2 separate regions of the Homo sapiens genome follow, and region 1 is linked to region 2. The links are contacts of gene promoters, found by promoter capture Hi-C in blood cells and fetal thymus (Javierre and others, 2016). All regions are on one chromosome and are shown on one strand. The core of a region is centred on a gene start or on the middle of the fragment in contact, and the rest is flanking DNA. Distances in the headings are between cores, read along the strand shown. Region 1 holds the start of HORMAD2 (HORMA domain containing 2). Region 2 holds the start of ASCC2 (activating signal cointegrator 1 complex subunit 2).

Region 1 (3,637 bases), core at 902-3,401, 240 kb before region 2:
GGGCGGGCGGGTGGAGGGGGAGGTCTCACTATGTTGCCCAGACTGGCCTCGAACTCTTGGCCTCTCAAAGTTTTGGGATTACACATATGAGACACCACACCACGCCTTCAATTGCCCTATTTTATATGGTGGCACAATTACTTCCTATTTTACCCCTACTATGTGTGAGTCCAAGATTCACATAAAGATTAGCCAGCTGCTGTTTAGTTTACTAAGGCCTAAACCACTTTTTTAACCATTCCAAGTGAAGCAAAAGCCAAAGTTTTATTACATTTTCCCAAATATAATCATAGTTGATTTATGAAGGCTCTCTACCCATCTTTCTCAATCTTCAAAAACCGTTTTTTACAAGAAAATCCCTTTTCTATCAGGTGAACACTATCCAATAGCTGGATTCTGAAATGTAACTATATTACCTTCCTTACACATGCATGTTGTTAAGAATGGCTTTACTCAAAAGAAGTGTACGTTAACATAAATGGGTTCAATAGATTCCTAAAGCTGGAAGGGAGCACAGACATCTTCCAACCCCTTTGATTTAAAGAAGATCCAATTCTGTGGAGGAAGAATCTTTTTTTCAGCAAATGATGCTGAAACAAAAGGACATCTGGAGGGTGGGGGGAAGAACAGAGAATTAAAAGAAACTTAACCTAAATCTCACACTGTATACAAATATTAATGCAAAATGGATCATGGATTTAAACCTAAACATAAAACTATAAAGAAAAGGGGCCAGGTGCAGTGGCTCACACCTGTAATCCCAGCACTCTGGGAGGCCGAGGTGGGAGGATCACGAGGTCAAGAGATCGAGACTATCCTGGCCAACATGGTGAAACCCTGTCTCTACTAAAAATAAAAAAAAATAAAAAAATTTAGCTGGGCGTGGTGGTGCACACCTGTAGTCCCAGCTACATGGGAGGCTGAGGCAGGGGAATCGCTTGAACCCGAGAGGTGGAGGTTGCAGTGAGCTGAGATTGCGTCACTGCACTCCAGCCTGGCACAGAGCTCGACTCCATCTCACAAAAAAAAAAGAAAAAAGAAAAGGAAAGTGAGGCTAAGCAAGGGAACTTGGTTTGCCAAAGTTCGCCCAATTACTTAGACCTTCCAACAGAGCTTGCTTCAATAAATTATTCACCATTTTAACAAATTCCATTTGGCCCTGGTAATTCCCCTACCTGTGCTCATTCAGAGAAAATGGCTTCCACTATATTAATTGAGTATTTGTTCATGCTCTTTTGACTTTTTAATATCTTTTTCATGCTATTTCAATTATTCATTCATTCAACATCTACGAGGCAACTACAATGTGCCAGGCAACAACATGCAGGATTACGAGATGTAAAATACTGTTCCTACCTCAACAGATTGATGGTCCAATGGAGGAGAAATTAGATTATGATCCTGCTGAGATTAAAAACCCCTTTAGGGGCCAGAACCACCCCTCATTTCTACCAGCTGAGTACACGATGTACTGCACAGCCTGTCCAGTGCCCTGCGTACTCGGACACATTTTGGCGATTGGCTAATCCTGAGGTTCAAGACTCTCTCCCTCTGTTTAGGGAACTAAAGTCCATAGGGATTAATTGGCAAATCCTCACTAAAGTGAAAGGGGAGCTGAGGTCAAGGGGGGCGGGGTGTCTTGTCCCCACCTCTCTCACCTCTTGGCCTGTACCAGGCATCGATCCTGGCAGAAAACCTCAATGGCTGGGGAGAATCTGACCCAGGTAAGATAAACTTCCCCAAAGCTCCACCACACACGGCCCCCTCCAATGTCGGGCACAGACATCGTCTGCCCTGCCAGCCTCATCATGGCTCATTATGGCTGCTGCTTGCTCAGCAAGTTTGATTTCATGTCCAGAAAAATCTGAATTTCAAAACTACCTGGGTGCTCTCTGTCCAGTTCTGGGGGAAATCGCCTCCCTTTTGCCTTCCTCCTCAGCCCCCTGCCCTCCCGATTCTCTTCACAGTACTTTAGGCCCTCACGAAATATGATACTTTCAAATCCAACTTAAAGCCTTAAGTAATAAGAAAAGAAAAAAAAATTGTTTTTTGACATAAAGACAGAACTAACAACGCCCGAGTGCCCTCTCTGGGCCGAGACCTCGCGTCTCAACAGCCCTCACCTCAGCTCGTCGACGCTTCCCTCCCACCGGGGGTCAACGGCCTTTTCCGGCCCAAACCCGCTCCTCGGCTCATGAATAGTCAACGAGGCCTTTCTGGGCGGGACCAGAGGTTTCCTCATGAATAATTCATGACCCGTCCACGGCTAGCCTGGGCGACCGGCCTCGCTAGACTTCATGAATATGCAAAGCAGGGGCGAACGGCGGCTAGCCGGCCCCTAGCCCGCCCGGCCCCTCAGCAGCCGCCTCTCAGCCACGGGCTGCACACTGACCCGACGCGACCTTCGGTCAGGGGCCGCCAGCCTGGGCCACCTATACAACGACAGCCTGCTCCGGGGCTTCCTGAGGAGGTGCCTGCCCCGCCGAGGTTAGGACCCGAGGGACCGTGGGGCTCGGGCGGGCCAGGACGCCAGGCCGGCGGGTCCCAGAGAGGTCTGAGGCGGGCGCGGGGCGGCGTAGGGGAGGGAAGCGAGAGCCTGGGGGGCCCAGGGACCCGAGTTAGAAGAAGGCCCGAGAAGTGCGGCGCGGTGGCTCCACCTGGGATCCCAGCACTCTGGGAGGCTGAGGCGGGCGCGTCACTTGAGGTCAGGAATTCGAGACCAGCCTGGCCAACATGTTGAAAACCCGTCTCTACAAAAAATACAAAAATTAGCTGGGCGTGGTGGCGCGCGCCTGTAGTCCCAGCTACTTGGGAAGCTGAGGCACGAGAATCGCTTGAGCCCAGGAGGCTGAGGTTGCAGTGAGCCGAGATTCCGCCATTGCACTCCAGCCTGGGCGACAGAGCGAGACTCCGTCTCAAAAAAATTTTAAAAAGTACAAAAATTAGCTGGGCCACCTGACGTGCGCCTGTAGTCCCAGCTGCTCGGGAGGCTGAGGTAGGAGGATCGCTTGAGCCGGGGAGTTTGAGGTTGCAGTGAGCCAAGATCGTACCATTGCACTCCAGCCTGGGCAACAGAGGGAGACCCTGTCTCAAAAATAAAAAAAAAGAAAAGAAAGAAAAAAGACATAAGGCCAGAAGGCCAGAGCTTTCCAATACTTGAGGGCATCTGCAACCTCTTCATCCCTACCCTGGACCTGACTTTGCATTCTTTTTAACATTAATTTGTAATTATGCAAATAAAACATAAATATATTCTCCTTTGTGCCCTACCCCTAATCTCAGTTTTTTCTGCCCTGGTAACTGTGGGAGCAGTTGGGGGTGTGGCTCCTTGGATCGTTTCTCACCTGTTTAGGTAGATATTTCGTATCCTGTGGTGCTTTCCAAAGGCTCCTGGAGTCCCATGAACCTCCCCAAGGGGATTTCCCAAGAGAGTAGATGAAAGAGTGAGCCACTTGAAACCTGTTCTTATTTTGTTTCTGCAGGAAAGAAAAAAAAAACTATTCAAGTTGGCGAGAACATGAGTTTAGAACATAATGACTAAAACTGAAATTTGGGCTGAAATATTCTTTTAGTGCAAGTTTTCTCAACCTTCTCCCCACCCCCACCATCATAACAACCAAAAATTTCTCTAGACTTT
Region 2 (3,962 bases), core at 1,463-3,962:
ACTACGGAGGCTGAGGCAGGAGGATGGCTTGAACCTGGGAGGCGGAGGTTGCAGTGAACCAAGATCGTGCCACTGCACTCCAGCCTGGGTAACAGAGTGAGACTCCATCTCATTTAAAAAAAAAAAAAAGTCAAAGAGATAATATGTGTAAAATGCTTATTCCAGTGCCTGGGATGAAGCAAGGGTTTGACAAATGTGGTCATTATTATCACAACTGTCTTTATCTCTCTGCACCTCTACTTCCTCTGCTGCAGACCTGGGGTTGATATGCATCCTCCAAGTATCTGTGGCAGGCAGACTCTAGAATGGCCTCCATTGATTCACATCTTTTGGTATTCATGCCCTTGTGTAATCCCCTGTGGGCAAATCCTGTGACTTGCTACTAACAAATAGAACATGGCAAAACTGATGTCACTTTCTTGATTAGGTTACATGAGGTTGTAATTTCTCTCTTCTTAGTAGAATCTCCTATTGCCTCCTTTTGTTTGTTTGAGACAGGGTCTTGCTCTGTTGTGCAGGCTGGAGTGCAGTGGTGTGATCACAGCTAACTGCAGCCTCGAACTCCTGGGCTCAAGCAATTCTCCTGCCTCGACCTCCTAAGTAGCTGGGACTACAGGCATGCACCAGCATGCCTGGCTAATTTTAAATTTTTTTTTGTAGAGACGAAGTCTCGCTATGTTGCCTAAGATGGCCTCAGACTTCTGGGCTCAAGCAATCTTCCCACCTTAGCCCCCCGAAGTGTTGGGATTATAGGCATGAGCCACGGTGCCCGGCCCCTATTGCCTTCTTTTATTTATTTATTTATTTTTAATTTTTAGAGACTGGGTCTTGCTATGTTGCTCAGGCTCAATTTGAACTCCTAGGCGCAAACAATCCTCCTGCTTCAGCCTCCCAACCTGCTGGAACCATAAGCATGTGCCACCACTCTTGGCTTCCCTATTAACTTTTAGGCTTGCATGCTTTGATGAAGCAGGCTGCTACACTGGAGAAGCCTACGTGACAAGCCTTTAGCCAAAATCCAGCTAGGAACTGAGACCCTTAGTCCAACAACCATTAAGGAACTGAATTTAGCCACTAGACATGGGAAGCAGATCCTTTTTGAGTTGAGCCTTTAAATGAGACTCCAGCCCTGGCCGATATCTTGATTGCAGTCTTGTGGGTGACCCTGATGCAGAGGAGCCAGCTATGCCATCCTCAGATTCCTGGCCCACAGAAAATGTGAGATAATAAATATGTTTGTTGGCCAGGTGTGGTGGCTCACGCCTGTAACCCCAGCACTTTGGAAGGCTGAGGCAGGCGGATCACGACGTCAAGAGATCGAGACCATCCTGGCCAACATGGTGAAACTCCGTCTCTACTAAAAATACAAAAATTAGCTGGGCCTGGTGGCTCATGCCTGTAGTCCTGCCTACTTGGGAGGCTGAGGCAGGAGAATCGCTTGAACCCACTGTAACCTCCGGGAGGCAGAGGTTACAGTGAGCCAAGATCACACCACTGCACTCCAGCCTGGTGACAGAGTGAGACTCTGTCTCAAAATAAATAAATAAATAAATGTGTTTGTTATAAGTGGCAAGCAGTGTGTTGTTATAAGTTTGTGGTAATATGTTATGCAGCAATACAAAACTAATATAATATCCAGCCCCTCTCATCTCATTTCTGGTTTACAGCCCATCTCTCCTATTTCCTTAGCACCCTGCATTCATCACACTGACTCATTGCTATTGGTTTTCTTGCACTTCCTATCCTGTAAGCCCCTTGAAGACAGGCACTGAACTAAGCATTCCTTGTAGCCCTAGTGCAGATAGCAGGGGTTGGCAGGAGTGTCCTGGGAAATATTTCACAATCCCAGGGTGGGGTTGTGTTCTCCATTCGGGGGCTTCTATAACACCCCAATAATGATGGTGGTTGGTTTTGAATTCTTACTGTGTACCAGGCACTGAGATGAAGCCAGGAATGTGTGTTCTTAACAAGTTTTCTGTGATGATTCTGATCCATAGTCAGGCTTAGGAACCACTAAACCTACATTACCTGAGACATTCTGTAGAAAAAATTGCATCCTTCTCTTAGGATAGCTATACTTGTAACTTCCTTAAACAAAACAGAACAAAACTGTATTGCATACATACAGAAAAATGCACAAATCTTAAGCGTACAATTTGATGAATTTTCCAAAGTGAACACATCTACATGGCTACCACCGAGATGAAGACAGGGGGTGACCCCAGCCTCACTTGTGGCCCCTCCCAGCCCACAGCCCCAGAGGAAACCACCAATTTTAACACCATCACTACTCATGAGTTCTGTCTGTTCTAGAATTTCCCGTAAATGAAATCGCAGTCTGTACTTGTACATCTGCTTAACATTATGTTCGTGCTTTTGACTTGTTAAAATTTCTCTTCTGGATTAAATATGTAAAACGGTGACTAAGGAGGTCGGGCAGAAGGTGGAAGCCTGGGATTCCGAGACGTCCTCTCAGGTGCCATACTTGGATTTCCCGAGAGGTGTAATCACACAGCCCGCCCTCAGCTGACCTATTCTCTGCTTAAGCAGGAAGGGAGATAGGAGGGGAAGGGGGCGTGGCTACAGACGCCGAGTGTGGGGCGGAGTCTTAAGAAGAGAGGCGCAACCCGGGTCCGGCTTCCCGGCGGTAGTTTGCTCGGCTCTGGGGGCGGGGCCAGGCCGAGACTTCCTGTCTGCTCCTGCGGAATCGCAGTTTGACCCCGGAAGTGCGGGCGCTCAGGGAGCTGTCACCGTGGTCGGCGGCGGCGGCGGCGGCGGCGGCACAGAGCCGGTGGTGGAGCCGCCGAGGTGAGTGCGTGGCTGGTCCCTGCCAGATGCAGGGCAAGGGACCCCGGAGGAGCCGCGGCTATGCCTTGGGCAGCCTTGGCTCTCCCATCCTCTGGCCTCCATTGCGGGGCCCACGCTTACGCTACCTGAGGGGTTGTGAGCCGCCTCTCGAGACTTGGCCGCCAGGGTCAGGAGCCACGGGTTCGAAGTTCGGCCCCAGAGTGGCGTTGGACCAGCCACGATCCCCCCACGTCCTCACACCCGGGGCTTCAGTTTCCTCAGGGTTCATTCATTCGTTCAGCAAATATTTGTGGAGTGCTTCCTATGTGCCAGACACAGATCTAGACATTGGGGATACAAAGAAAGCAAGACAGACAAGGCTTCTGCCCTCATGGAGCTTACAGTCTAGTGGGAGGAGATGGTCAACGACAAGCAAATGCACAAGGTCATTAAAGCTATGACAGTAACTGGGAGAGTGGATACTATAGGCAGAGCCATCAGAAGGTCTCTGAGGAGAGTAGTATTTAATTGAGAGACTAGAGGAATGATGACAAAGAGGCTGAGGGAGCAGTAGCCCCGGGGATGCTCCCAGGCCATATTGCAATTGGGTGCTTGTAGGGAGCTCCCCCTCCCTTTCTTAGCTTTTGGCTTTTGCTGTCCTGCCTGGCAGGGGAATACAGTGGTGGGCACAGACATAGTCATGATTATTGTTTGTCCTTTTGGAGCTCAAAGTTCAGATTGTCCAGTTAATTTATTTTTTCCCCCCAAGACGGGGTCTTGCTCTGTCGCCCAGGCTGGAGTGCAGTGGCGTGATCTCGTCCCACTGCAACCTCCGCCTCCCGGGTTCAAGCGATTCTCCTGCCTCAGCCTCCTGAGTAGCTAGGATTACAGGCATGCACCACCACGCCCTGCTAATTTTTTTTTTTTTTTTCGGTAGAGACGGGGTTTCACCTTGCTAGCCAGGATGGTCTCGATCTCCTGGCCTCGTGATCCGCCCGCCTTGGCCTCCCAAAGCGCTGGGATTACAGGCGTGAGCCATCGCGCCCAGCCCTGCCTACTTAATTTGTACCCGTGCTTTAGACAAAAACTCAGGTCTTCCTTGACATCACTTCTTCCTCAAGCCAGGTCTCTCTTTTAAATGCTGCCACAGCTTCATGAGCCTTATCTACATAGCT

What was found. The method cuts DNA at HindIII sites, captures the fragments that hold promoters and counts their contacts. A CHiCAGO score of 5 or more calls a contact.
Region 1: the fragment with the promoter of HORMAD2 here is called in contact with the fragment with the promoter of ASCC2 in region 2 in 1 of 17 cell types (M1 macrophages); the score reaches 6.0 in M1 macrophages.

What each region holds. Positions count from the first base shown.
Region 1 is chr22:30,078,978-30,082,614 of GRCh38, reverse strand. HORMAD2 (HORMA domain containing 2) reads right to left here and starts at 2,151. Exons shown (of 11, transcript NM_152510.4): 1 at 2,124-2,151. HORMAD2-AS1 (HORMAD2 and MTMR3 antisense RNA 1) reads left to right here and starts at 2,358. Exons shown (of 5, transcript NR_110541.2): 1 at 2,358-2,487. RefSeq lists enhancers at 2,081-2,160, 1,998-2,695 and a silencer at 2,501-2,550. The HindIII fragment of the contact is 6,725 bases long and covers 1-3,637 here.
Region 2 is chr22:29,837,024-29,840,985 of GRCh38, reverse strand. ASCC2 (activating signal cointegrator 1 complex subunit 2) reads left to right here and starts at 2,712. Exons shown (of 20, transcript NM_032204.5): 1 at 2,712-2,808. RefSeq lists an enhancer at 2,380-2,439. The HindIII fragment of the contact is 11,938 bases long and covers 1-3,962 here.